Regions from separate parts of the Homo sapiens genome. Here regions 1, 2, 4, 5, 6 and 7 are each linked to region 3. Evidence: promoter capture Hi-C in 16 types of primary human blood cells and fetal thymus (Javierre and others, 2016). All regions are on one chromosome and are shown on one strand. Each heading gives the region's core, a stretch centred on a gene start or on the middle of the fragment in contact. The rest is flanking DNA. Distances are from core to core; before and after follow the strand shown. Region 1 overlaps CCDC83 (coiled-coil domain containing 83). Region 2 has its middle 69 kb from the start of CCDC83. Region 3 holds the start of EED (embryonic ectoderm development). Region 4 has its middle 91 kb from the start of CCDC83. Region 5 overlaps SYTL2 (synaptotagmin like 2). Region 6 overlaps CCDC83 (coiled-coil domain containing 83). Region 7 overlaps CCDC83 (coiled-coil domain containing 83).

Evidence for each region. The method cuts DNA at HindIII sites, captures the fragments that hold promoters and counts their contacts. A CHiCAGO score of 5 or more calls a contact.
Region 1: a fragment that was not itself captured here is called in contact with the fragment with the promoter of EED in region 3 in 5 of 17 cell types (neutrophils, monocytes, M2 macrophages and 2 more); the score reaches 12.6 in neutrophils.
Region 2: a fragment that was not itself captured here is called in contact with the fragment with the promoter of EED in region 3 in 7 of 17 cell types (monocytes, neutrophils, M0 macrophages and 4 more); the score reaches 13.7 in monocytes.
Region 4: a contact is called between a fragment that was not itself captured here and the fragment with the promoter of EED in region 3, in 12 of 17 cell types (monocytes, neutrophils, M0 macrophages and 9 more). The highest score is 34.1, in monocytes.
Region 5: a fragment that was not itself captured here is called in contact with the fragment with the promoter of EED in region 3 in 5 of 17 cell types (activated CD4 T cells, total CD4 T cells, naive CD8 T cells and 2 more); the score reaches 8.1 in activated CD4 T cells.
Region 6: a fragment that was not itself captured here is called in contact with the fragment with the promoter of EED in region 3 in 17 of 17 cell types (neutrophils, monocytes, M0 macrophages and 14 more); the score reaches 26.0 in neutrophils.
Region 7: a contact is called between a fragment that was not itself captured here and the fragment with the promoter of EED in region 3, in 9 of 17 cell types (neutrophils, monocytes, M2 macrophages and 6 more). The highest score is 12.0, in neutrophils.

Annotation. Positions count from the first base shown.
Region 1 is chr11:85,899,586-85,902,296 of GRCh38, forward strand. The region is part of intron 7 of CCDC83 (coiled-coil domain containing 83); the gene reads left to right. Among named protein-coding and RNA genes, the nearest start is that of CCDC83, 46 kb to the left of the region's middle. The HindIII fragment of the contact is 6,819 bases long and covers 1-2,711 here.
Region 2 is chr11:85,923,189-85,925,993 of GRCh38, forward strand. No RefSeq gene overlaps it. Among named protein-coding and RNA genes, the nearest start is that of CCDC83, 69 kb to the left of the region's middle. The HindIII fragment of the contact is 1,656 bases long and covers 562-2,217 here.
Region 3 is chr11:86,243,343-86,246,042 of GRCh38, forward strand. It overlaps EED (embryonic ectoderm development), which reads left to right and starts at 1,411. Exons shown (of 12, transcript NM_003797.5): 1 at 1,411-2,001. The coding sequence starts at 1,888. RefSeq lists enhancers at 864-1,394, 1,395-1,923. The HindIII fragment of the contact is 4,943 bases long and covers 1-2,700 here.
Region 4 is chr11:85,945,208-85,947,907 of GRCh38, forward strand. No RefSeq gene overlaps it. Among named protein-coding and RNA genes, the nearest start is that of CCDC83, 91 kb to the left of the region's middle. The HindIII fragment of the contact is 4,095 bases long and covers 1-2,700 here.
Region 5 is chr11:85,768,481-85,771,398 of GRCh38, forward strand. All of the region lies in intron 1 of SYTL2 (synaptotagmin like 2), which reads right to left. Among named protein-coding and RNA genes, the nearest start is that of SYTL2, 41 kb to the right of the region's middle. The HindIII fragment of the contact is 9,047 bases long and covers 1-2,918 here.
Region 6 is chr11:85,861,522-85,864,304 of GRCh38, forward strand. The region is part of intron 1 of CCDC83 (coiled-coil domain containing 83); the gene reads left to right. Among named protein-coding and RNA genes, the nearest start is that of CCDC83, 7.5 kb to the left of the region's middle. The HindIII fragment of the contact is 1,792 bases long and covers 518-2,309 here.
Region 7 is chr11:85,882,331-85,885,074 of GRCh38, forward strand. It overlaps CCDC83 (coiled-coil domain containing 83), which reads left to right. Exons shown (of 11, transcript NM_001286159.2): 4 at 183-345. Among named protein-coding and RNA genes, the nearest start is that of CCDC83, 28 kb to the left of the region's middle. The HindIII fragment of the contact is 7,028 bases long and covers 1-2,744 here.

The DNA.
Region 1 (2,711 bases), core at 178-2,677, 340 kb before region 3:
TCTCCAGGAAATCTTGGGAGCTCCTTCCCCAGTGTTTTCTTGTTTTATTGTAATTCTTGCTGAAAGATGTTGAAATTGTCTATTTATGCATCTGTCTCATTAATACACAGAGCAGGCTATATCTTTTCAACTATATTTCCATGGCACCTGATAAATAATCTGTGCTTATTAGTTATTGAATGACTGAATGTCAATGAATATAGATATATTCATTGAAGGGATTAATCAAATAAATAGCTTAGATCATAGGTTAAAACCTTTGTGAATTGTTTATTGTAGTTCAAGATGGTAGGCTGCATCCTACCTCTCCTGAGGGCTCGCTGAAATAAAATTATAAAAATTATAAAAATACAAAAAGAACTCATCCACAAAGAGAACAAGAGGAGTTAACTAGCAGGTGAGATTTCAGAAATCTTCTGAAAGACAAAAAGTAGATGTGAGAGTATGTTGTTGGATGAAACGAGAAGGTATTGCTTGGGCCAGACGTTACAAGAGAACTACAGAGGATGTGCAAAACTCAATGTTTTTGGAATCCTGGGAGATTCTCTGCTCAGAGTCTGTGTGTGCTATAGATGGTGGGAATGGGAACTGGAGCAGAAAACAAGAGGGTTACTTGATGATCTGAATAGGGAGCATCTGTATCAGTAAGCATCTGCCATCACCCTCTACAATTTCCCTCACATACCACCAAAGTGTTTACTTTTGACCTAAGAACCTGATGACTGTCCTCTGAGAACACTAAACAAATTATCAGATAAAGGCAAAGGTTTCTAGTGTAGACCTTAGATGTTTCTGTGCCCCACAGAAAATCCTTCCTATGTTGGCATTTAGGAAGCCACAACCTAATATCCCACTCTTGCCTTCTCATCCTTTGGGATTTGCCAGTTCACACCACCTGCCATACCACATACAGTCTCCAGTCCACATTCCCATTCAGAGGAAAAATTTGGTATGAAAACAGTCCTATTTACACAGTGGTGGGGAAAATCCATGCCACTCCCCAGACTTTTCTTAAATATAAATAGACATCCAAGGACCACCAGGCATTTGAGTACATTTGGCACAACAGAAGAGAAAGGCCAAGTGAATTAACAACAAAATAAAAAATAAACAATAACAACAAAAACAGCCTGTGGAAGAAATAGAAAAAATTTAGGGAACTGTGAAGGTCTTTTGTTAGTATACTCAAAATAATCTGGCCAGGCATAGTGGCTCACACCTCTAATCCCAGCACTTTGGGAGGCTGAGGAGGGCAGATCGCTTGAGGCCAGGAGTTCAAGACCAGCCTGGCCAACATGGCAAAACCTCATCTCTACTAAAAATACAAAAGTTAGCTGGTCACGGTGGCTCACACCTGTAGTCCCAGCTACTTGGGAGGCTAAAGTATGAGAATCGCTTGAGCCCGGGAGGCAGAGGTTGCAATGAGCCAACATCCCATCAATGCATTCCAGCCTGGGCGACAGAGCGAGACCCTGTCTAAAAAAAAAAAAAAAAATTCTGGCCAGACACATTGGCTCACATCTATAATCCCAGCATTTTGGGCGACCAATGCAGGCAGATCACTTGAGTGCAGGAGTTTGAGACCAGCCTAGGCAACATGGTGAAACTCCATCTCAATATATATATATATTTTAAATTTGAGAAGGCATTTTATTTATAAAACAAGATGCTTTAAGAACAAAAATCAAATATAAAACAGGAAATAGACCAGGCATGGTGGCCCATGCCTGTAATTCCAGCACTTTGGCAAGTCAATGCAGGAGGATTGCTTTAGCCCAGGAGTTTGAGACCAGCCTGGGTAACATAGTGAAACCCCATCTATACAAAAAATAGAAAAGTTAACCAGGCATGGTGGTGAGCACCCGTAGTCCCAAATACCCAGGAGGCTGAAGTGGGAGAACTGCTTCAGCTCAGCAGGTCAAGGCTGCAGTCAGCTGTGATTGAGCCACTGCACTCCAGCCTGGGCAACAGATTGAGACTCTGTCTCAAAAATAAAATAAAATAAAATAAAATAGGGAACAGAGAACAAATCTCAAAACAGGGAAGACCACAATACAAAAAAAAAAAAGGAAGAAGAAAAATAAGAGACATAGAGTACTAATGTAAGATGTACAATATCCAACTAATACAAATACACAGTAATTTCAGAAAGAAAGAATAAGAACCAGAGCAGTGGCTCACTCCTGTAATCCCAACACATTGGGAAGCTGGGGTGGGAGGATTGCTAGAGCCCAGGCATTCAAGACCAGACTAGGCAACATAGCAAGATCCCGGCTCTACAAAAAATAAAAAAAAATTAGCCAGGCATGGTGGTGCAGGCCTGTGGTCTCAGCTACTCAGGAGGCTGGAGTGGGAGAATCACTTGAGCCCAGGAGGTCAAGGCTGCAGTGAGCTATGATCGCACCATTGCACTCCTGCCTGGGTGACAGACTGTCTCAAAGAAAGAAAAAAGAAAGAAAAAAAGGGCAAATAGAGGGAAGGGAATCATCAATGAAATAATAGAAGAAAATTTCAGGGTTCTGAAAAGGACATGAATTTTCAGAACACCAAGAACAAAAGGAAAATCCTAAAAGATTCTGGCAGAAGCAGGTGGGGGTGGGGGTGAAGTTAACTACAAGGGAATAAGACCCAAACTGACATTTGATTTTTCAATAGCAAAGTTCAGATGAAAAATTATTTTTAACTTGGAGTTCTATAGTCAGCTAAAGTAG
Region 2 (2,805 bases), core at 140-2,639, 320 kb before region 3:
CTAAGCACTGACACAATGCTACAAGTGGAAAATTCCACACCTGACCTCATGTGATGGGTTGCAGTAAAAACTTTGTTTCATACACAAAAAAAAATTTTAAATAGTATATAAACTTACCTTCAGGTTATGTGTATATGGTGTATCTGAAATATAAATGAAGTTTGCGTTTGGACTTGGGTCTACCCCCAAGATATCTTATTACGTATATGCAAATATTCCAAAATCCTAAAAAATCTGAAATCTGAAACACTTCTGGTCCCAATCATCTCAGACGAGAAATACTGAATCAGTATAGCTACTCTCTAGGTCTGGTAAGTACTCCCTCCCTCTCCCCCTTTAGACCCAGGAGTGGAACAGTTCCCATCTGTTGATAGCCCCAGGGAGTGTTACCATTCCTGTTGGTTTTCCTTGATGCTGCCCACACCTTTGTATATATTGCCTTTGTTAAATTTTCTCCAGGTATCCTGTTTGAATGTGCCCTTTGTTTCCTGCTAGGAAAGGTAAAGGCTGGAGATTCAGATCTGGGAATCAACAGCCCAGGACTGAATTTAAAGCCATGAAAGCTTAAATGACATAACCTAGGGACTGAGTTTCAATAGAGAAAAGAGACATGGATGCACCTGGAATAATTCATTCTGTAGATGTGGGCCCTGAAACTAAAAGGTATCACTCTCAAGAGATTTCAGAGCAGAGGTGGACTGAATCTAAGTAAAACGGCAAACTAGCCCTGACCCAGTTCAACTCTATTTTTTTTCTTCGCTCTCCTCTCTTTCCTTTCCCTCTCCCTCCTCACTCACCACCTACACACGGCACCCACTCCTCACCAGAGCCTCTCGATTCCCCCAGCTCAATTCTTGATTCCTTTGAGGTGATTTTCTCCTCACCTAATATAACTAACAGAGGATAGATTCTTTTTTCTCTGGGGAACAAAGAATACCAACCCAGACACTATACTCCTTGTATTCACAATGTTGAGCATACAAAACTTTATACGTGTGTGTGTGTGTGCACGCGCGTGTACAGTGCAAAGAAGCAGGAAAATAAGACTAAGAATCAGGAGGAAAAGCAAACAATTAAAGCATGCCCACCAATGACCCAGATATTCAAGTCAGTAGGCTAGGACTTTAAGAATATTATTATATGGTGGCTGGCAATATGGCCGAATAGGAACAGCCCTGGTCTGCAGCTCCCAGTGAGATCAACACAGAAAGTGAGTGATTTCTGCATTTCCACCTGAGGTACCCAGCTCATCTCACTGGAACTGGTTAGACAGTGGGTGCAGCCCACGGAGGACGAGCTGAAGCAATGTAGGGCGTCGCCTCACTCGGGAAGCACAAGGGGTCAGGGAAGCCGTGAGGGACTGTGCCATGAGGAATGGTGCATTCTGGCACAGATACTATGCTTTTCTCACGGTCTTCACAACCTGCAGACCAGGAGATTCTCTCAGATGCCTACACCACCAGGGCCCTGGGTTTCAAGCACAAAACTGGATGGCCATTTGGGTAGACACCGAGCTAGCTGCAGGAGTTTTTTTTCATACCCCAGTGGTGCCTGGAATGCCAGCAAGACAGAAACTTTCACTCCCCTGGAAAGGGGGCTGAAGCCAGGGAGCCAAGTGGTCTAGCTCAGCAGATTCCATCCCCATGGAGCCCAGCAAGCTGATATCGACTGGCTTGAAATTCTTGCTGCCAGCACAGCAGTCTGAAGTCAACCTGGGATGCTGGAGCTTGGTGAGGGGAGGGGCATCTGCCATTACTGAGGCTTGAGTAGGAGGTTTTCCCCTCACAGTGTAAACAAAGCCACTGGGAAGTTCGAAGTGGGCAGAGCCCATCACAGCTCAGCAAAGCCCCTGTAGCCAGACTGCCTCTCTAGATTCCTTCTCTCTGGGCAGGGCATCCCTGAAAGAAAGGCAGCAGCCAGCAGCCCCAGTCAGGGGATTATAGAAAAAAGTCCCATCTCCCTGTGATAGAGCACCTGGGAGAAGGGGCGGCTGTGGGCACAGCTTCAGCAGACTTAAACATTCCTGCCTGCCAGCTCTGAAGGGACCAGCAGATCTCCCAGCAAAGCACTTGTGCTCTGCTAAGGGACAGACTGCCTCCTCAAGTGAGTTCCTTAACCCCGTGCCTCCTGACTGGGAGACACCTCCCAGCAGGAATCAACAGATACCTCATACAGGAGAGCTCTGGCTGGCATCTGACGGGCGCCTCTCTGGGATGAAGCTTCCAGAGGAAGGAAGAGGCAGCAATCTTTGCTGCTCTGCAGCCTCCACTGGTGATACCCAGGCAAACAGGATCTGGAGTAGACCTCCAGCAAACTCCAGCAGACCTGCAGCAGAGGGGCCTGACTGTTAGAAGGAAAACTAACAAACAGAAAGGAATAGCATCAACATCAACAAAAAGGACGTCCACACAAAAACCCCATCTGAAGGTCACCAACATCAAAGACCAAAGGTAGATAAATCCATGAAAAGGAGGAAAAACCATCACGAAAAGGCTGAAAATTCCAAAAATCAGAGTGCCTCTTCTCCAAAGGATCACAACTCCTCGCCTGCAAGAGAACAAAACTGGACAGAGAATTGAGTTTGACGAATTGACAGAAGTAGACTTCAGAAGGTGGGTAATAACAAACTCCTTTGAGCTAAAGGAGCATGTTCCAACCCAATGCAAGGAAGCTAAGAACCTTGAAAAAAGGTTAGAAGAATTGCTAACTAGAATAACCAGTTTAGAGAAGGACATAAATGACCTGATGGAGCTGAAAAACACAGCATGAGAACTTTGTGACGCATACACAAGTATCAATAGCCGA
Region 3 (2,700 bases), core at 161-2,660:
GCTGATGAAAATGTCATGCCAAAGCACGTCTTACTTTGTCAGGAGCTTACTCTACTCCAGTCTCATCTCTTCTCACCAACTGAGGAGTGCTTAGTAGTGCCTGGAACATTGGAAGTACTGAACAAATGACTGCCGTCATTGAGACCTCAACTTTAATTTTTTTTCGGCTTCTTTATTTCAAAGTCTTCACTGCAGAAACCTCTCATTCTGACCTGCCTTTGCTTTACTTCCTTTTCTCATTCTCAACCAAGAGTTCTCTCTTTATCTACAAAAGAAAGAGTGACTTGCAATCTGCAGATAAGGAAACTGATGTCCTGGTTATAAAGTTATCATGCAGAAATAATTCAAGTATACTAGAATTTTATGGATGGTGCACTCTAGGTGGGTAATGAGGTCTAGAAGAGAAAAGATATACAACATCAAGCAGGTGCCCAAGAAATGGTAGGTCCCTTTCTCCCTTCCTGCCTCCTCATTTTTACAGATGAGGACATTTTTACAGAAGCCCGAATAGATAAGTAGTCACAATCATGTTCTAAGAAAAACAAAAAAAAGGTGGCGGATGCCGTATTTTATTTTTCGTCATCACTCTCCTTTTCCTGCTGCTCATTCAGTTATGGTTTCATGACCCATATAATAATTCCACAAGGCTCACCAATGTTATCTGGCACCTGCTAGAGAATAGATATAGTAACAGAGGCAAATATTTTGGTGAAGTTTAACAGTTGTGTTGCCTTCTAGAATTTCATTGTATCTGATGTGCAAAAACAAGCAAAACATTGTCGGTTAAGTATCACAATCTCATAATGGAGATGAGCACTGATTCTTAGGCCTTGGCGTAGTTCAGGGCCTATCCTTTAGCAGCTAAAAAGAGCACTTTGGCTGTAACTCATTGGAGTCTAGTCTCATAATGTTAGGATATTTCTATTTAAGTCTTAACCACTATTGGTAGCAACTGGAAGGATAATCATTCATTACAATAAATAGTCAACAGAATAAATATCCGACAAGAATTTACGAAGCGTCTAGAGTATAATTCGGTAGCGCTTTGAAATCCACCCTGGGATTCGGAAACCGGGTAGAAAACTACCTGGTTCAGCAAACGAGAATTCAAACAGAGGAGGGGCTTGGAGGAGGCGGGTTTCGACGAACCCAGCGCAAGAGTACGCCACGGCGCCTGCGCATCCCCTGACGGGTACTTTCCATTCGCCAGATGGGGGAAGCCAGGGGGAAGCAGGTTACTGTTTTTGCATTTCTATCTTCAAGGAAGAATTAGGTTATGAATAGTTCCGTGAATAGTCAGGAAGCGCTGTCCTCCAAGTTCAAGATTAAGGAAACGTGGCATGCACAGCTAAAGCAAGAGGTGACGTCTTGTATCTTCCCCCGTTTCCTGGGACATTGGTGGTGTAGCCCATTCCACAGACTTTCGCTCCCTAGCAGCGGGTCGGAGATCGAAGGAACGGGCCAATTGCGGCTGAAACGTCTTTGGAAGGAGGAAGGGGGTGAGGGAGCATCCCTTTGAGTTTCGCCTCTTCTCGAGGCGGTGGTGGGAAGGGAGACATACTTAATACTGCCCTCTTAATCCAACGGACCTTACATCGTGTAGACTGCCGGGAGGGCGGCGGGAAAAGGGCAAGACGGGAGTTGGGGAAGGGAAGGAGCCAGGAAGCCGCGCGGGAGGGCGCGCGCGCGCGCCCCTTTTTCAGCAGTGTGGCGGGGTCGCACGCACGCCCGCCTCGGCGGCTGGGCGCGATTTGCGACAGTGGGGGGGGCGGTGGAGGTGGCGGCGGCAGCGGCAACTTTGCGGCAAGCTCGGGCCGGGCTTGCTTGACGGCGGTGTGGCGGAGGCCCCGCCCCAGGCGGCAGGAACCTGGAGGGAGGCGGAGGAATATGTCCGAGAGGGAAGTGTCGACTGCGCCGGCGGGAACAGACATGCCTGCGGCCAAGAAGCAGAAGCTGAGCAGTGACGAGAACAGCAATCCAGACCTCTCTGGAGACGAGAATGTAAGTGCAGCTTCTGGCAGTTACGAGACTGCGGAGTGAAAGTTTTAAATTCTTTTAAAACGGGGGGCGCGGGGACGAGCGGGCTGCTGTGGGGGGAGGGAGAGGTGTCACTCAGGAAAACGCGGGCGTGCGGGAGAAAATTGAAATTGCCTACGGGGATTTTGATGTGGGGCCGAGAGCAAGCAGGAACTAGGCAAAGGAGAGTGGTTCTAGTGATTGCGTGGGTCTGAGAAGTCTGCCCTGAAATCAGTTTGCATGTGATGGGGAGTGTTTTGGCCTTTGGGGGGATTTAAGGGGAGAGTGCGGGTCTGAGATTCTAGTAGTTTAAAAGGCACGTTAGAGACTTTTCTAAGAAAGTTGGAAGGACGGGGCAGAGTTAGGGACCCTGTTAAAGGAGCGTAAGGGTTGTCACTCTAAGACCCTTGTGGAATTTTCAGGATGGAAAGTGATCTTCGATTTGCGGAGTTTGGGAGACTTTATTAAAGGGGGTTTTGTGTCCGCCTCCGTCCTGTCCGCGGAGACCGGGTGCGCCTGAAGGTCGCCTTTTCTGTAGGAGGAGCCGAATTGAGAGGATCGATTTTTGATTTGGGGGTGGGGAGTGACTACCTTTGAGGAAGTAAGAGTGGGTGATTTCTTCTTTGAACGTTTTTACTTAAGATAAAGGTGAGGGGGGTGGCGACCTGGAAGATTTTGGGCAAC
Region 4 (2,700 bases), core at 3-2,502, 300 kb before region 3:
GACCCCCAACAAACATGGTGGGCATCCCTGGGCTCTGGCCTATGCTGGACTCTTAATAATTATGGGTAGCATAGTGAGAATATTAATAGTGAGTTGAGTGAGTTGTTGCTCTCTGTATTGCTGCTGTGGCCTCTGGGTCCAGGGTTCTGCCCTGTGGGCACATCTCCCCACTAGGAGAACTCCCTCAGCCTAGGGGGTGGAGTATAAGGAAAATGGCTATGCTTCAGTCAGGAGTAGGCCAAGGCAGACATCCAGTACAGCACGACACAGCAGGTTTGGAGTGCAGGCACAAAATCTTGTGCACTATGTAATCACACTTATGTAGTCATTTAATGTAACCTGTTTGTGTGAGCCCATATGTGGCTTTAAGCCACTGTTGTCTGTGAGAAATATAATGGCACTGCTGACTCTGTAGGAGAGGGGGAGAGAATAAAGCCATGTCCCAACTGCCTATGGTCCCTCGAGTGTTCTTTCAGCTACCCACCACCCATCCACCAGCTCCCCTCAGACCTCAGCTCAGGTTGGAACCTGACAGACTAAAAAAGTCTTGTTTGCTGCCAAGAAGATGTCAGAGTTGAGAAGGCATCATTTGGAAAGGGAAGGGGAAAGAATGTCTGTATTAGTTCATTTGCATTGTTATAAAGGGATACCTGAGGCTGGGTAATTTATTTTAAAAAAGAGGTTTCATTGGCTCACAGTTCTGCAGGCTCTACAGGAAGTGTGATGCAAGCATCTGCTCTAGGCAAGGGTTGCAGGAAGTTTACACTCATGGTGGAAGGTGAAGGGGGACAGGTTTATCACATGGCAAGAGCAGAAGTGAGAGACAGAAGGGAGATGTTCCAGACTGTCTTAAACAACCAGATCTCATGTGACCTGAGCAAGAACTCACTTATCACCAAGGGGATGGTGTTAAACCATTCATGAGGCATTTGCCCTCATGATCCAATCACCTCCCACCAGGCCCTACCTCCAACATTGGAGATTACATTTCAACATGAGATTTGGAGGAGACAAACATTCAAACCATATCAATGTGCTTTCCTTCCATTAGTATCATTTCTTGTGTTTGAGATTTGCAGAATAGCAGTATCTCTAAAATAAATCTGCAGTTTTCTCAACAACTCAAATTCCAAACAGCTTACAATGGTAGCTTTGTTAATGACTACATTGCAAAGCAACTCTCAATAAAGTTGTACCACTGTGAACTTCCTATGGGTGTCACTCATTCAACAAAGCATTTATGGAACCAGTCAGGCACTGTTTGTAAGGTTTTAGGGATGCAAAATCAAACTGCTTCTTTCCTCAAATAGCTCATGGTCCACTAAGAGAGCCTGAGCCATCATTGCTGCTTTCAGTCTTCAGCAATAACAAGGAGGGAAGGAAGCAAGGAAAGTGGGAGAAGACAGGAAAAGCTATTCTAGGTGTGGTGGGTGAGGCTACCATGTGTTTAGCTCACACTGTTTTTAGTACCTTTAGTAATAGGCTTGGAAAAAGCAATTTAAGTAAAAATGAGTTTAGGAGGATTTTTATGTAGGTTTCAGTTCTCAGAATAACAAAGTATTTGAGTTTTGCATGTTGTTATTCAAGATTTGAGGGGCAGGAACAAGGTGGTTGGAGCTTGAGCTTCAGGGTAGTAAGTTGCTTACTTTAGGCCAAAAATTAGCTAGGTTTGAAGAAATTAAGGAGGTGTAAAGAGACAGAGTATGGGAAAACACATTCTGTGGAGTCAGGCTGGCTGCCTTTGCATCTTGGGTGGTCACTTAACCTCTTTAAACCCTGGTTTCCTCAACTATACTTTACAAACCTAATTCCCATACTGCAGTATTATTTAAGGATTAGAAAGTGTGTAACCTACACATAGTAGACATGCAATATATGGCAGTTGAAAAAATTGACATATAACAGGAATCTCTAAAGATTCTCTGGAAGTAGCCAAAGAGTATGGTTGTCTTTGCAATGCATTCACGTAAAGGCACACAGAGCAGAGTCTGTGTCCAATCCGTCACATGGTGTCAGGTGCAAACCAGTATGATGACAGCCGGGCTCTACACACTTTAAGTTTTAATTTGTATAGATATATGATAGTTTTATATGCATATGGGGTAACTACATGCTTATTAATCCAAAGGCTCGCTCTGTCTTTTGCTGAGAGCAAATCAGTCACCGCCCTGGTATAGGGGCATGGTCTTCATCCAGTAGGCTCCAAGGGCCCATCCTGAATCTGCTGATCTACTTGAGGCTGTAGGGACAAGTAGTAAACCTAGTTCCAAAATTCTTATGTGTAGCAGGAGGTGGGGTACAGGCATTTTTGTCTCTTCTCAAGCCATGTAGTCAGACACTAGAACCATTCAGGGAACAGAGAGGCTAGGTTAGTTTTATGGCAACAAAGGGCTGTTTGTTAAAGGACTGATTTCCTTGCTTGTTTTACTAGATGCCAACACAACAGTTCTCTGTATTTTTCTTGGAATAAACTGGCTTTTGTAACAGACACAAGGAAATGCACCCTCGAACAACTGAGGCTTTCTAAATATTAGTGACTTTAACTTGATTAAGTATTTCCATTTCCTATTCCTATGACTTTGTGAGGCTCATGTTCCCAGAAAGCCTTTTTTTTTTTTTTTGTATCGTGACTCTTTAGGTTGGTTATGTTTTAGGTCATTCTGTTCTTATGATCTGAGTAAGTGCTAAAAGCCTTTAAGA
Region 5 (2,918 bases), core at 387-2,886, 470 kb before region 3:
ATTATGCTGTAAGTAAAATGGCCTGGGACACAGTAAGTGCTCCATAAACACCTAATGACAATACATAAATCCCCAACATTTCACTAACTCAATCCCTTTCCATGCCATTATAAGGTTGGAGAACTACTTCTGCTACCTTTTCTATTTACCTCACTAGACTGTTTCCTATCCTCTAACCTCCTACACCATTTTAAGAATGAGTCAAATTCTTGGTTTCTGCAAGCACACACACTCCCACCCCCTGCTGCAGAGACCTTTGAGGAGGGTTTTTTAAATCTTCTAAATTTGAGATGGGGTATTGGTAGGAGAAAAGTTGGGTGAAAGGATCTCATTCTTCAAACACAAGAATTCTCCTAAATCTTTCCATCTTAGGCCTGGACCCCAATCTCAGAGAATCAAAAGCCAAGAGTTTGATATCTTGGTCTCTGGTTCTGCAGTAACAGCCCTCCTCTAGCTTCCTCCAGCAGTGGGCAGAAAGGCTTTGGTAACCTGTGTCTCCAGCATATAGCAGGCGCCTCATTTATTGAGTAAATGAAGAAGAGGAAAAAAAAGATCATTAAGAAAAAAAGCAAAACAATTCAATGGAATACAGAAAAGGCCAAAAAAGGGCTGTGCAAAAAAGTTTGATAAGTTATGTTCCATAAGTATGTTAATTCTATGGTAGGCAGAATAACAGTCCTCCAAAGATACCCACATCCTAATCCCTGGAACCTGAAGATATGCTGCCTTACATGGTAAAAGAAACTTTGTAGATATCATTGTTAAGAATCTTGTGGGGAGATTATCCTAGATTATCTAATGAGGCCCAATGTAATCACAAGGTCCTTATAAGAAGGAATTAGAATAGTCAGAAGGAGAGAGAGGAGATATGAGGCTGAAAATGTTGGAGTGATGTGTTTTGAAGATGGAGGAAGGGGCCATGAGCCAAGGAATGCAGGCAGCCTGTAGCAGCTGGAAAAGGCAAGGAAACAGATTCTCCCCTAGAGCCTCCTGAAGGAATTCAGCTCTGTTGATCTCTTGATTTTAGCCTGTAAGATCCATTTCAGACTTCTGACTTCTAGAATTATATAAGTTTGTGTTGTCTTAAGCCCCTAAGTTCATCACAGCAGTAATAGAAAATTAATACACAGTCTGAGGACACGATGTTACTTATTCATCTCTGAGTCCATCTGTGAGTTGTGCCAAACCCCTATTGACTCCAACAGGGATGGCACCCAGTTTAAGAGGCTGAAGAAGAGACCCAAAGCCTGCAAATGAAACATGGGGTTTTATCAGCGGCTTACATACAGGGAAGAGAGTCCAGTAGCGGTGGGCTGGACAGGAGAACCACCAGTCCAGTGGCAGCAGGCTGGACAGAATAACCGCACAGGCCCGTGGTGGTAGGCTGGGCAGGAGAACCACAACCACTTGCAAAAACACGCAGTTTATGTAGCATTTTCACTTGGCACCCTTCCCCTAACAACCTCCACCTGGCAACCATCATTTAACCCAAAACAAAGGGCCTCATTTCACAGGACAGCTGGGGGCTCAGATGTTCCTCATAGATAAGGAATAGATCTCCAGGTTGGCCACTCCCAGATTCATTAGCTCAGAACTCTGAACACACATTCTGGTAAATCTGCCACACAGTCATGCTCAGGGTGTGCTCAAGTCAAGTTATTGCTGTTGGATTCGTATTGCATCTGCTATACAAATCCCTAGCATGCTGCCTGGAACCTGTTAACTAAGTACATCCTCATAAGTAACTCTGAGGTGACACTATGGATGCTTTCCTCTCCTCATCCTAAAAACCAATCATTGCCAGACTGAACCTGTGCAATCTCCCTCCAGTACAACTCTTTCTCCCCTTGTCTACCACTCATGTAGGCGGATGTAATTTTCTCTGAACATGGCTTCATTCACTCCTGGTTCTCCCTCATTTCTGTCTACCATACACAATCCAGCTAGACTCATATCCAAAGCACCACTCTCATCATGCCATGCCTTGACTCGAAAACCTTCCCAAGCACTTCCCTGATGGCAGAGAAGTCCAAATTCCTTACTCCAGTATTGGCATCCTTCTCATTTCATTCCAAGTTCCCTATCCAATCTTCTTTCCTACAGGACCATTCCTACCCCTTGAACTACAGCCCATCCATTCCCCACATATCACCTGTACACTATCATCGCCAGACCATTGTTTATGCCATTCTCTCTACCTGGAATGTCTTTACCTTTTATCTGCACACATCCAACCCTTTCCTATCACTCAAGTCCCAGTGTAAATGACACCTCCTCCATGAAACTGCTCCTGCAGCCCATTTCCCCTCACAAATACCCCTACCACAAGCAGGCAACATTTTCTCTTTCACTGAGCCCAATAATACTTATCCGTACATCTCTCATCTGAAGTAGGAAAGAGCCCAGGCTCTAGAGTCAGATAGACCCGAATATAATGTGGCCCTATTATACAAGTTACTTAGCTTCCCTGAGCCTCGGGTTTCTCATCTGTAAAATGGGCATCATACCTATCTTACTGAGTTGTCAAGAAAATTAATGCTTATATATAGGTACCCAACACAGTAATTATTCAATAACTAACATTTTGTAACTTATAGATATATCAAATTCCCACTTCTAGACTCTTTGAGGGAAGGATTTTTGTCCATTTTTAGCCACACTGCACCTGATACATAGTAGTGGAAAAAAACATAAATAGTTACCAAAGTGTTGAGAGCATCTCTCGAGACTTCCTGACCGGTGTAGTCTAAGGATGGTTTCACCTTTAGACACTTCAGAGAGCAGGGGAGAAGCACACTGGATCTCTGCGATCATCAGTGTTCAATATAATTCTTAAAATGGAAACTTGGCAAGACTCCCTGTCTTTGGTTAATTAACGTAAATGAATGTAAACAACTATTCATCCCAACCAACAGTAA
Region 6 (2,783 bases), core at 164-2,663, 380 kb before region 3:
TAATGCTGTTAAGTAAATATCTTTCATTTTAATCTACATTGTATGTAAAACATTAGCTATCAAACCTCAAACTCCATTTTATATGTCCAGAAAGGTATTAGGGCAGAACTGCCATCCCTCCCAGCCTCCACAGAATTAGGAAAGGAGTCATTGGGAGGCTTCTGGATATTCACGCCTTCACAAAGTCATTAAAATAGTCATTTTGGGCCAAGTGCGGTGGCTCATGCCTGTAATCCTAGCACTTTGGGAGGCCAAAGTGGGTGGATCCCTTGAGCTCAGGAGTTCAAGACCATCCTGAGAAACATGGCAAAACCCCCTCTTTACAAAAAATTAAAAAATTAGCCAGGCATGGTAGCATGCGCCTGTAATCCCAGCTACTCTGGAGGTGATGTGGGAGGATGACTTGCACCTGGGAGGCAGAAGTTGGAATGACCCTGCATTTTTAGCTTGGGCGACGGAGCCAGACCCTGTCTCATTAAAAAAAAAAAAAAAAAAAAAAAGAGAGTCATTTATTTTAAGCTTTCTAGATACTGAGCCAGGATGCTGAGATAGTGCAGGAAGGGATACACTGTGTGTTCTATAGGTAACTTTGCAGAGCCAAAGCAGTATGGGATAACTACATATGAAAAAAATGATTGTGATATGTCCATTTTTAGTAAATAAACTTCTGGCTTTTCACTGAGAGGCGTTTGGGAAATATTTATTGCAAGATTTTATGACAGAAAATGATGGAGTAGATTCTGGAAAGGTTGGCTGGAGTCCTGAGTCTTTCAAACCCAGGATGCTCACCTGTCCTTACATCACGGTGTATGTTTTAGAGACCTCAGACACAGTCGGGAGAGGAAAACACACATGGCCACAAAAGGGAGGTCACATGCTGGATGAAGATCTCCCTAGCATTATCTGCATGATTTTGCAATGAATTTTAAAGCTGCTCATTTTTTTAAAGTTCTGCTGCAGTGTGCTTCTGTCTTCCTATCTGTCTGAGAAGGGTCTTGCCTCATCTATACTTTATAATTGGGGGCCAGGTAAAGCACCATGCACAGAGCAGGCATTGAATAGATGTTTGTAGTTACTGACAGATTCGACGTCTATTTGTCAGATATTCTAAGTGTAACCTTCCTGGAAGATAATTGCTTTTACTTTGTGAATATTTTTCTAGGATTCTCACCCTTTACTGAGAGAAATCTTCTGGGTGGTCAGGAACTGTGAATCCTTGTAAATGTTTATGAAAGTCCCCATGATTTATAGCACATTATCAAATGCAAAAATAGATGTTGAGGTACTATCATTAGCCCATTGGAAAAATGCAGCTATTAAGCAGACAGTCCAATTGGCTTACTAATTTTCTTAAAGTGTGTGAAACAATGAATCTTAATAGAGTTTATGTATAAAGCATTTGTGCTTTAATGGGTCCACATTTTCACTCATATTTTATTAAAATCCTTTGCCATAAGCTGCAGTTAGGTAAGTAATTATACATTAGTCAGAGAGTTAAAAACATAAAAGCCAGGTAACTAAGGTAATTGAGCAGGATGAGGTCATTTTTCCTCCAGCACCAGATGGGTACCACAGGTAAAAACCGTAACACTTGATCTCTTCCATATGACTTAGAAAGAGATTAATGTTGGCATTGGTTTTAACTTTTAAATATTTTATAGTAAAAATTATTACTAAATGGTAAGTTATTGTTTTAAAATGAAACATTTGTTAGTATGCTTTTTGTGCAACAGCCAAGTTTAAAATTCTAATTCTAAAATGGAAAATAATATAAAAATTCAACTCTGCATCTGAAACAAAGAGTAATCTTCTCTTAGCTGATAATTTTCTGTGAACTGTGGTGGTATCATGATGACACCTTTTGGTGGGAGCCTATTAAATTATTCTCAATACTTTCATATTTGAGAAGACACTACTTAATGTACTAATGTATTAGATCTTTTTGTTGTGTCATCTGTGTGCTTTTCAGTTGGAAAGTATTGTGGTATATTTGCATTCATGTATATGCTCAAATTAGTTAGCATACAGAGTAGTGCAAACTTGGTTAGAAAAGTCACAGACATAAAGACAGCCTGACTGGAAGTCTGAGTGTGCAGGCAGCATGTCTACAGAGAAAAAGCGTGTTTTCATATTAACAAGTTTCTCCACTTTGGAGCTGAATGGTCTACAAAGATCTATGTGGATTGCCAATTCAGTGATCCAAATCAATGAAGGTTGACAACAGCAAACCTTATGGATTAGTCTTTCCACGCATCATCGTACTTGCAGAAGGCAGCCATTCTATGCTTTAGTTACCCAGAATTTGAAGAAGCTTGACCTGGAGCAACAACTGAAGGGAAAGAGGAAGGGGCACTATACAGAGATAGAGCTAGAGATATATGCCCTTTTTCTATATCTCAGACACTATGCTAGGTGCTTTAAATATTAGCTTATTTAATCCTTACAATAGCTCTTAGAGTAGAATTGTTATCCTTCTCCCTTGACAGATGATGCAACTGAAGTTCCTCAAAAAGATTAAGTAACCTATTCAGGGTCACAGAGATAACAGTGATGGATCTAGGATTAAAGCCCATGTCTGCCTGATTCGTTCATGCATCCACTCATGTGTTTATCTGACAAGCATTTATTGTGTGTCTATTGTGCTTAGTGAGGAAATACAGTGGTGCACAAGAATTACATTATCCTCACCCTCATGAGAGTTTCCAGCCACTTAAATAATTACAAAGGTTATATTTTATGCTTTCTACCACACTTAACTACTGATACATTTATTTAAGGCTAGG
Region 7 (2,744 bases), core at 96-2,595, 360 kb before region 3:
CTGGCATTGCTCTGCCAGGGGAAGTAGGGATACCACCTCATAATGTCTGATGGAAGTAGAAGTCCAGGCTTCCCACTTGCCTTCCTGTGATACCCAAAGGCCGGGAACTTCTTGACTCTATTTTGAGGAAACATAGTGTACATAGTTGATCAAACGTGAATTACTGTTGATTTTCATGACAGAATAGCCGCTTAAAAGAAGAACAGATTTGGCACATACGGCATCTACTAAAGGAACTGAGTGAAGAGAAGGCAGAGGGATTGCCAGTTGTAACAAGAGAGGATGTTGAAGAAGCGATGAAGGAAAAATGGAAGTTTGAAAGAGACCAGGAAAAAAACTTGAGAGGTGATTTAGGAACATAGAAAACTATCATAGAGTTGTGCCAAGTTATTTCTTGAATATATTAATGCTTTATTCTTCCAATATGTTCAAAATGCTGTTAAGTGTATTTTAAACGGCATCATTACCACCGCAGCCACAAACACATGTAGGTAAATGGGCAGGAGAGGGAAATAATAAAGTGGGTAGAGGTAATGAAGCCAAGCAAGGAGGTGGAAGAAGGGTAGTGATCAGAAACAGATGAAATTTATCTGACTGTTTTTTTTGGGATAGGGTGTAGTTCAGTCACCCAGGCTGGAGTGCAGTGGTGCGATCTCAGCTTACTGCAATCTTAACCTCCTGGGCTCATGCAGTCCTCCCACCTCAGCCTCCCAAGTAGCTGGGACTCCAGGTGCACACCACTATGCCTGAGAATTTTGTTCCTTTTTTGTAGAGATGAGGTCTTGCTATGTTGCCCAGGCTGGTCTCGAACTCCTGGGCTCAAGGGATAGTCCCACCTCAGTCTCCCAAAGTTCTGGGATTACAGGCGTGAGCCACCATGCCCAGCCTCATCTGACTCTTACAACAGGACAGTATCTTGTTAAACACCATTACTCATAGTAGGGTTTTGTTCTTTTTCTTTTTTTTCTTTTTTTTTTTAATTCTGTTGTTTGGTGGTTTCATTGACTTCAGCTTCAGCTTAGATTTGGGAATGATAAGGCAAATAAAACCATGAAAAATGTTTCTCCCAATATCTCTAAGGGAGCCAAGCACCCCATTAGATGGAGGAAATAGGGATTAGCGTTGGGAAAGGGGAAGTTTGGAGAACATGGGTAGTAATGACACTAGGTGCAGGCAATGAAAGACCCAGGGCATACTCTTGCTGTAGGCTTAGGAAATACCATGGTACTGAGGGTAAATCATGCAGTTCTGACATACACATTTTGAAATTCCTATTCTTTCATTCTAAACTTGCTGCTAAGATTTCTAGGACCACTTTTGCCAAAACCTCCATAAATAACATCCCTGCTAGGAAGCTGGAAAACATGAGAAAGAGACCTAAGTGCTATCATTTGTTAGCCCTTAGGAAATCCACGTATTTCTGGATTTCTCCAAGTGCCTACTTAGCTGAGCACTTTGCACACAGCAGGCTCTCCACTCAATAGATATTTGCTGTTTTGAGTGAAATCGTTTCCAAGACCAAACATCAATAGGCAAGTTTCATTTTTAGGGGAGTCCAAAACTGTTCCCATAGACCTCCTCCTACCCAAGTCTCTTCATTGGCAATAGGGATGTCATGACATGGTAGATAGTATATTTTGCATGACTTCTTTCCAAAAGAGTTCTGCTTATATTTGGAAGGAATACTTTAGTAAGTCCCTTGAGATGGAGTGAGACCCCAAAGGATGCTCAGCTGTGCTCGCTAAACTGCCTTCTAAAGGAATGGGCCCAGTTAGTTGAGATGCGCCTGTTGATGGTTTGGGCTGAGCATGGGGATGTGTCATACAAGACTGGGCCACACGGCATGACTGAGCACAATAGAGGAGGACTGGACATGCATGGGAAGAAAGGAAGCTCACAGACATGGAGGAAGAGAGGGAAAGTAAGAGAACAGAAGTGTCTGGAAAACATTTCCGAGGTAGTCACTTTATGTCCCAGGTAGTCCCTTGCAACTCATTTTGGTGTGGAGCAGCAGCAAGTGCTTCACCTATCAGCTTGTTACAATGCCAATTCCCAGGCCCCACCCAGACCTACTGAATCAGAATCCGCATTCTGACAAGATCCCAGGGGATTCCTATGCACAGTAAGGTTTGAGAAATACTGCTGCAACCCTTTTCATCCAACTTTTAGTAAGGACTCTTTCAGTTGCAAGGATAAAAAATCCAAGTCAAACTAGCCTAAGCATAAAGGGGATGTTAGTCTTTTCACATCACTTAACACAGAAAGACAGAGTGCTTCTGACCTGGATACAAGGCTTCACATGCTGTCAGATCTCAGCTTAAACAAACAAACAAAAATCTCTGGGGCGTATGTGTTACTAGAAGGGAAGGGAAGAAGTTCTAAGAAAGTAGAAAAACAGCCACTACATCCATCTCCCTTTTACAATCTTCAGTGACATCTACCAACCCTCCCCTCAAAGGCCAAATGGGGCACTGGCCTGAGACAGTAGCAGTCTGCTCGAATGAGAGAACAACTACCCATCTGGCTTATAGTAGTACTGATAATTGTTTAATGAAAATAACCACCATTTGTTAAGAGATTTTAAATATAGTATCTTGTGGCCAGGCATGGTGACTCATACCTGTAATCCTAGCACTTTGGGATGCCAAGGCGGGCAGATTGCCTGAGGTCAGGAGTTCGAGACCAGCCTGGCCAACATAGTGAATGAAACCCTGTCTCTACTAAAAATACAAAATTAGCCGGAC